Regions from separate parts of the Homo sapiens genome. Here all the other regions are linked to region 1. The links are contacts of gene promoters, found by promoter capture Hi-C in blood cells and fetal thymus (Javierre and others, 2016). All regions are on one chromosome and are shown on one strand. The core of a region is centred on a gene start or on the middle of the fragment in contact, and the rest is flanking DNA. Distances in the headings are between cores, read along the strand shown.

Evidence for each region. Contacts are between HindIII fragments. The CHiCAGO score rates a contact against its expected background, and 5 or more counts as called.
Region 2: a fragment that was not itself captured here is called in contact with the fragment with the promoter of LIG4 in region 1 in 1 of 17 cell types (monocytes); the score reaches 5.2 in monocytes.
Region 3: a contact is called between a fragment that was not itself captured here and the fragment with the promoter of LIG4 in region 1, in 3 of 17 cell types (naive CD4 T cells, monocytes and naive B cells). The highest score is 6.6, in naive CD4 T cells.

The regions. Positions count from the first base shown.
Region 1 is chr13:108,214,199-108,216,893 of GRCh38, forward strand. LIG4 (DNA ligase 4) reads right to left here and starts at 1,338. Exons shown (of 3, transcript NM_206937.2): 1 at 1,286-1,338; 2 at 340-412. RefSeq lists an enhancer at 1,263-1,557 and a silencer at 1,401-1,540. The HindIII fragment of the contact is 5,824 bases long and covers 1-2,695 here.
Region 2 is chr13:110,126,684-110,129,378 of GRCh38, forward strand. LINC03082 (long intergenic non-protein coding RNA 3082) reads right to left here and starts at 2,453. Exons shown (of 3, transcript NR_187462.1): 1 at 2,174-2,453. RefSeq lists enhancers at 1-223, 224-1,031. The HindIII fragment of the contact is 4,195 bases long and covers 1-2,695 here.
Region 3 is chr13:109,791,848-109,794,542 of GRCh38, forward strand. No RefSeq gene overlaps it. Among named protein-coding and RNA genes, the nearest start is that of IRS2, 6.6 kb to the left of the region's middle. The HindIII fragment of the contact is 4,709 bases long and covers 1-2,695 here.

The sequences.
Region 1 (2,695 bases), core at 88-2,587:
TGAAGTATCCTTCATGCAACCCTTGACAAGCTGTGTTTCCCTAGGAAACAAAGGGTTTACAGCTGCCTATCTTCCACAGCACTTAGTGACAATTTGGGACAATCTCAGCAAAAAGAAATGAGCAGACAAAGACGCTAGAAGGGCTTTGGGATCCCAAAAGTTAATGAAAGACCAAGTGTAAGAAGAGAAATAAAGTAATTCCCTCCAAGCCTAAAGTCTCTCCCGCTCCAATGCCCCCTGTACCCTCTCGGAAAATGGAAAATCCCTAAGGAGTCTACATCATTCCTCTGCCCGTTCCCCCTACTCTCCCCCAACCCTTCACGGATTCCCAGTGAATACCTGGCCTCGGGCAAGCTCCGTTACCTCTGTGAACCAGAGAATCCCAGCTGTAAAATGAGATCTTGATGGTTTCCTGCGGGGTTGCCATGAGAAAGAATCAACATGTACGCAGGTAAAGCAGGCAATACAGTTCCAGGGAGTCAAAAACGGGAGAAATCGTCCCACGACCTGGGGCTTGGGTCTAGATGAAGAGCACAGCATCAGGAGGCCAGGCTTCTAATGCGGCGCAGTCTACAGCGCTGTGGACTCGGCAACTCCCATCACCTGCCGCTGCACAAACACCCTGCTTGCTGCCCCCATAGACCGACCCCCGCCTGACGCCTCCCAGACCCCCCCACCTGACGCCCCTCAGGCCCCCCGCCTGACGTCCCAGACACCCCCACGACCGGATCCCCCAGACCCCCAATCTGACGCCCCACTTCCCCTACTTGACTCCCCACACATCCCCCGCCTGACGACCCCCCGACCCCCGCCTGACGTCCCAGACACCACCCATCTGATCCCCCAGACCCCCAATCTGACGCCCCACACCCCCCACTTGACTCTCCACACACCCCACACCTGCCACCCCACGTAAACCCCGCCTGACACCTCACAGACCCTAACCTGACGCCCCACAGACCTCCCCCGCCTCCTGCCGCCACACACACCCCAAACCCCGCCCCGAACACCCCCCACCTGCCGCCCCACAGATTCCCCCCTCTGACGCCCCACAGACCCCCAACGTGACGCCCTACAGACCCCAACCTGACGTCCCACAGATACCCCGCCTGACGCCCCACAGACCTTCCCCCGGTCTGTTGCCCCACAGACTTCTCGCCGCCTGCTGGACCACACCTTCCACTTGACTCCCCCCACACCGTCAATCTGCCACCCCCCACCCCCCCCACCCCAACCCCCCCCAACCTCCCAACCGCCCCCACCTGCCACCCCACACCCTTCCCACCTGACGTCAAGCCTGAAGCTCAGCCGCTAAGCCGGAAGCTGGCGCCAGAAGATGCCGGTTCCGCCAGCTGCTCGCCGCGCAGGCGCAGGGGAGACCCGGGGCCTTGCAGTCACCGGGCTCAAGCACGCCGGCGCAGCCAGGCTCGCGATGGGAGGTGGGGGGGCCGGCAGCCCCGTGGGGCTGCGGAGGCGGGACCTGCAGGATCCTGGTTAGGGTCTTGAGTACACACGGCTCCTATTGGCCTCGGCAGCAGATGCTCTCTGCAAGCAGTTGATCCACACGCCAGTGGATTTTGTCTCGAGGGAGACCTAAGATCACTTTGTGCTCTGGCTAGTGATAGCCTCTAATTCTTGTTCTCTGTACGTAAAACAGTGGTAACTATACTGATTTCGCTGGTTGTGAAAACTCCCAAGAGAGAACAGGACATCCTCCCAACTCAAAACGTTGGTTGTTTCATTTAAACTTTTAAAAAATAGGCTTTTGCAAACTATATAGAGCTGTTTTTTTTTTTAAATGATGTTTGCTACTGTGGTCTCAGTTCTCTTAATACAGAAATAATACATAACAATACATAACTTACAATATAGAAATAAACCGTTGCATGACCAGAAATCAACTATGGACTCTTCTAGTATCTGTTTAAGGTTTAAAAATAAAGTTATTTAACAAACCTTTATTGAGCACCTATTATTATATAGTAATGGTGCTAGATATTCAGGGTGGAGAGATTATAAACAACCCCAGTTTTTGTGTTCCAGGAGCTGTTGGTTTCCACCGAATTTTTGCTGTGGTCAGTCCTCTTTCGCCATGGAGAAGTGAGAAGTTATTCATAAAGAGGGGTGGAAACAACTTTTAGAACTATTTTATTTTAGCATAAAATATTGCTTTACAATAAAATAAATTTTGCTGCAGTGGGCCCTGATAAAACATATTAGAGCTGTTAAGTGCCCTTAGAGGTTGTGTAATGTATAAAAACCTCCTTTTTCAAAACTGACACATTTCATTCAGTGCTAGTTTGTAGCGGAGGTTCCGTCTAGCCCAAGAACATTCAGTTATTTACTTCGTATGTCTAATTGACCTAATATGCCTGAATATCTAAAATCATCTGTGATGTTGTAAAGTCTCATGATATTGTTTTGTGAGTATCTGCTCTTCAATTTAGTTATCAATTTATTTTGGAGGAAAAATGAATAGTGTTAAGGTAGAGGAGCCTCCACTTGCCCATCTTAGGAGAGGGTACCTATCCGTGTACATTTGTAGCTTGTTCAACCTCTACTGAGCTCCTACAATGTCAGAAGCTGGACTTTGTATTAGTTACATGAGAAGAACCATGAATTATGAAACCAGGCAAACTCCAAATTGATTCAAAGCCCAGTCTCCATTTCATCATGTTATTTTAGTTGATTGGTT
Region 2 (2,695 bases), core at 132-2,631, 1.9 Mb after region 1:
TTCAACAAGTCCTCCCTGGAGGAGGGGCAGTAAGCAGAAGGCAGTACAAGTGGCACATTCTCCTTCTAATGAGCACAGCACACTAACGTCTCTCGGAGGGGGCCCAGCTCTCCTCACGTTCCTCTGGGCCCAGGCTCCCTGCCAGCCTTTTCTCTTCCCCAGAGCATTCAATCGCTGTCAACAGAGCCAGACAAGAATAGAAGCCGCTCAGAGACTCTCTTTTGTTTTGCTGGGACACTTCAGCACATTCTCATGGATCCTTCAAAGGAAGGCAATTATCTGATCATTCTTGGGAGCAATTAAAATGTGGAAGGATACATCCTGCTTCAACCCGCCGAGTTTGTCTTTCCAAATCACATGGGCAATTGATTACACCATCAACAAACCCCATGTAACCCTCCAAGGAACGAGGTGCGTCCCTTGCAGTAGAAAACCGATAACCCAAGACATGAAGGTTCGAATGGATGATTGGCTTAGCTGGAATTGTGCTCCTCTGGAGGAGACTTTTTAAATGTATTCCTAGTTGCAAGTCCAGAAGCAAGGGAAGTGAGGCCCTCAGGGTTCTATCAGAGCCTGGGAAGGGGAGGAGAGCAGAGATGCTAAAGCAGTAGCAGAAGATCCACAGACCCCTGGAAGGACATGGAAGCTCGCTTTGAGCTGCTCCTTAGTTCATGGGGGTCTCTCCAGCATAAAGAGCTTCCTTCCTAAAATGGGAAGAGGGCTGTTTGCACAGAGAGAAGCGTAGCCTTAATACTGTACTTTGTCCATCCCTCCAGAAAGCCCAAGGGAGGGGGCAGATGGTTCATCTGCAAGTGATCCCAGGCCTAAAGCAAAGAGATGGATGGTCGGAGCCTCCGCGCGGTTTTTCCTGGCTACCTCCATACCACCATGTCACCTCTCTGTAAAGGCGATATAGGGAGCACCATCTGGGTGTTGTAGCTCATCTGGCTGTTGTAAGGAGTAAATGAGATGGGACGTGCCACACACATGATATGTGCCCGGCTCACAGGAGGCACCTTAGTAAGTGGTCACCATCAGATATACTAGTGAACCTGAGAGTGGCCCTTACCAACGTGGAAGGCTGGGGTGTTTGTAATCATCACTCAAGGCAAAGCAGAAAGAAATCTAGGCTATTTTTTAAGACTCATTGTGTTTGGTCACAGGCAAAAATAGAATCCATCCTCATGCAACCATCCTTTAAATAGTATTTCAACAGAGGGTTAAAGTGTTGGTTTGGGGTGTGAGAGTGATACCTTATTCATTCAGAAGTCCCTCAAAGAAGAGGATGGAGAAACAGACACGATTCCATGAAATGATCACTTTCCCCAGGCAATCACACCAAGGAAGGTCAAAGAACCTCCTCCCCGAAGGTTCACTGCTGGAGGTGGAGATCACAGCCAACTGACAATATAACTGCTGGCAGATATTTTTAGGTGGAAAGTCCCACCGTTTCCCGTACCTCACTGTGACCCTCATTACGGCATTAGGATGGGATTACCTTGCTCTCTTCTGAAATACTAGCTTATCCGTGGCACCAGCAACAAATACAAGCAGCTTGTCTGATGGAAAGGTCCTCTACTTAAGAACTAAACTTCCCCCAAATCACAAGCCCCTTTGCTGAAACAATGAAAAATTTAGGTAAGCTCTGGATTGAACTATTTCCCTCCCTTTGAAATAACTGGATGTTTAGTCATAACAAATAAGAATGATTCTGGTATCTTGTGGTCACGACATAGCATTTTTATGTTTTTTTTTTTTTATTTTTCACTTTACATCTCACTACATGGACATGCTACCTTCAATTCAACCCCAGGTTACATCAAAACCTCTTGACCTTTCATTTAAAGACAAATAAAAGGCAGCTGCTGGGCTGTGAAATTGTGAATAACAAACGGAACCATTATTTGAAAGGTTTCAAATTCTGATGAACAGAAAGATTATTTTGGAAAATCTATAGCGGAGAGTAGTATAATTATAACTTAGATTTGCGTGGTGCTCAATCCAAACTCATCTCCAAACTGAACGTGGTTTTCTAACAATAACATTCCTCCAAAAAAGGGGGCAGCCTACAAACCAACATAAGCGTAAGATGCACTTCCTGTCCAGCTAAAAATAAACCTGCAGACATTTGAAAGCAGCATAGAATCCTTTCTAACAATAAAAACAAACTCACCCATGTCGTTGGGCCAAGGCTTTGACATTTTAAAAATCATTATGGTGAAAAATAAACGCAACCTATAACGTGAGCTATTGTTAGAAATCCTTGAGAAAAATGCCTCAAATAGAGAACTCGAACGTCCACTCGCTAAAAATGAAACCGTTTTACTTGGGCATTGTCAAAGGTCGAATGGTTTTCTCCAAAAATGATGTTGAAGTCCTAACCCCCAGGACCTCAGAATGTCACCTTATTTGGAAATAAGGTCCTTGCAGATGTAATTAATTAGAACGAGGTCACATTGGAATGGGGTGGGCCCCGCATCCAATAAAACCACTGTCCTTATAAAAAAGAGGCACGCCACGTGAAGACCGAGACACACAAGAAGAACACGGGGTGTGGCTGAAGGCGGAGGTTGTGACGACGCATGTACAAGCCTGCAGGAGCATCCGCGAGCACCGCTGGCCCCACCGGAAACCGGGAAGAGGCAGGACAGCTTCTACCCCGAGCCTCAGAGACAGTCTGGCCTTGACATCACCT
Region 3 (2,695 bases), core at 85-2,584, 1.6 Mb after region 1:
TAGAAATGTATATCACTGCCCACTTAAGAGTTTAGAATACTAGCCAACAAAATAAAAACAAGAATCTAAATTCAGTATTATTTTAGAATGTTTACCTAATCAAAAATAAGTTATAATCAAGATTTGCTTATCTGGCAAGCCAAGTGTTTTTTAATTGTATTTCTCCCCTACATTGACCTTTAAGTCTCACATTCTTTTTAGGATAAGCCAAAGTCATCTTGAAAGATTGAAAAGCAAATTGGAAAAAGTAAGATAGGAAAGAAAACATACTCTGAAAATGACACATAACAAAAATGTATTTTAAAAACATAAATAACAAATGGCAATAAGCATCGAATGTCACTATCTTTTTGATTGCGTAAAATTATTTGAACTTACATACTCATTACTAATTTGGCAATTCTAAATTTACAAATTACACCTTCCTTCTTAACTGCTTTATTCTCAATCTTTAGGCATTGCAAATAGAAGATATTCAAGTTAGTCAAAGTGTTCAGAGCTGTTATTCAATAGAGTGAAGGGATCTGAAAACTTATTTGCTACTGAACATGTCGTTGAGGTACTTTTATGGATGAAAAAAAGTTGATATATAAAATATCAATAATAGTAATAGCTTGTGAGAGTAGTTTGTCAGTATACTCACAAAGATCATGAATTTGACGCTTACTAGTATGAGGGATAAATAAAAAACATTTTATAATATGTAGCTACCATAAAGATACGATTATGACACAACTGAGAATTGAGCGGTCTTTTAATTCTCCTTTTGAGTAATCTTTACCAACCTGTCCTCTGAGCCTCCGTGTATATGCTATGTTTAAGACCAATGATTAGCTATTTATACATGAATTTTCCATTTTTCCTTGTTCAAAACACTTTTGTCACACAAATAATATTAACTAAACTAAAGTGACTTGAGGGAGTATGGATTAATGAGGTTCACAAGAAAATAAATAAAGCAACAACTTGTGAAATTTAGGGCAGATGCCATTTATTGCCATTTCCCGCTGACTGTTAAGTAGAGATTTCAGTTCAGATAAACACATTCTAAGAATTACTACTGAAAGTGTAAACATCAGCCTGCATTTTAGTACTTGCTGGTTCTTTAGTAAAAATTTCGAATGTCAGCCCAAGGTTGTCTTGCTAAAAGAGAAAAAAAATAGGAATTATATATTGAAAACATCTTAAAATTATATTTTATACTACAAAAATTTCCTTTTAGGTAGTAAAAGTGAGAATTTAAAAACATGATTCTCACTGCTACTAAAAGCACACAGAAAATGAAATACATATTTTTGAGACTTGATACTTACCTGTTTTATTTTGATAAACTTGTACCTAGTTTTAAAGTTTCTTCACACTAAAAGTACACCACAATTTCAAAATGGCACCCTTGTCTCTCACAATATAAACTTTAAAGGAAATTAATATCTAGATCATCATTTTGCTTTGTTGTTTTAAATATCATCATGTTTTAGTTACAGAATAATACAAAAGTGGGCTCACCCTTTATCGTGAAGGTGCATTTATGGCATTTTCAATTCAAAATATAAAAATCCGCAAACATTGTTACTAAAAATGTGCTAGATATTTGTTAAGCCTCAAACGTATACTAAGAATTACCCAGAACATAGGTCTTTGCCCCATTAGCTTTCTGTCTAAGTAATAAGGCACTATTTTCCTCAACTATTTCTTTCCTCAAATATTTTTTTCTTGTGTCTTTTGTTACAATATTGCCACACATAATTTGAAGATAAAAATTGCCATATATTATAACCATCATCTGGCTTTTTTAAAAAAACTTTCTTAGTGCTTGATTTTAATGTCCAATGCTGCAATTTTACCTTCTTCTTACTAATGGTGTAGAGTAGAGAAAGTGACTTTTATCTCTGAGCTGAGGAAGTTTCTAAATTTCATTTCACAGAAATTAGTTTTAATGAGTCAAACAGTAATTCTATTTCTTTTATTTTTAGGTTGCTTCCTTTAGAAGGTACCGTTTTGGACTCTTGACGCTGCCTGGGTCCATAGTGTGAGGACCCATCTGTGTAGTAGAGAATAATACTCAATAGATGTAGTGATGTAGTTATGCTGTGTGGTGGTAAATTCATTCTAACCCAGTGAAATGTTGGATTCGGTCAAATTTATCAACGTTTCTTAAGCACCTACTTTGTACTAGACACTGATCCTGTGGACATCAAAATGCAAACCGACCACAACCACTCAGCTGTGTCTGCTGGGAAAGGCCCTCCTCTGTGCGTCTCTCCTGCTCCCACGCCTGTTAGTGGGTCAGTGAAATACGCAAGACCCTGGCTTTGCTTTACTCAAGCCTTTTTTAAGGGTTGTGCTTGCAGCAAACCACACTAAGAGGTGAGGTCGCATTCCAGAACAAAGTGCGGGCCTGCTTATTTCCTGCTACAAAAATGGTGGATTACCCAAGTCCTTTGTGTCAGCCGAAACACAGCCCACTGCAGGCGTGGCATCCAACAGGCCCCGCCCTGTTGCCCCATGCTGCCCGGGAAGCAAGAGGAATAGAGGCAAGTCATGCCACTTTCTGTGCCATGAGTCTCTGACCGGAAAGGCTTACATCCTCTGCCAGCATCCACCTAACGGTGACGGGCTAACATTACTTTCTAAGGGAAAGGGAGTAAAATCTCAAACCCTGACAGTGTGCTTAGGAAGCTCACAAATCAGTGGG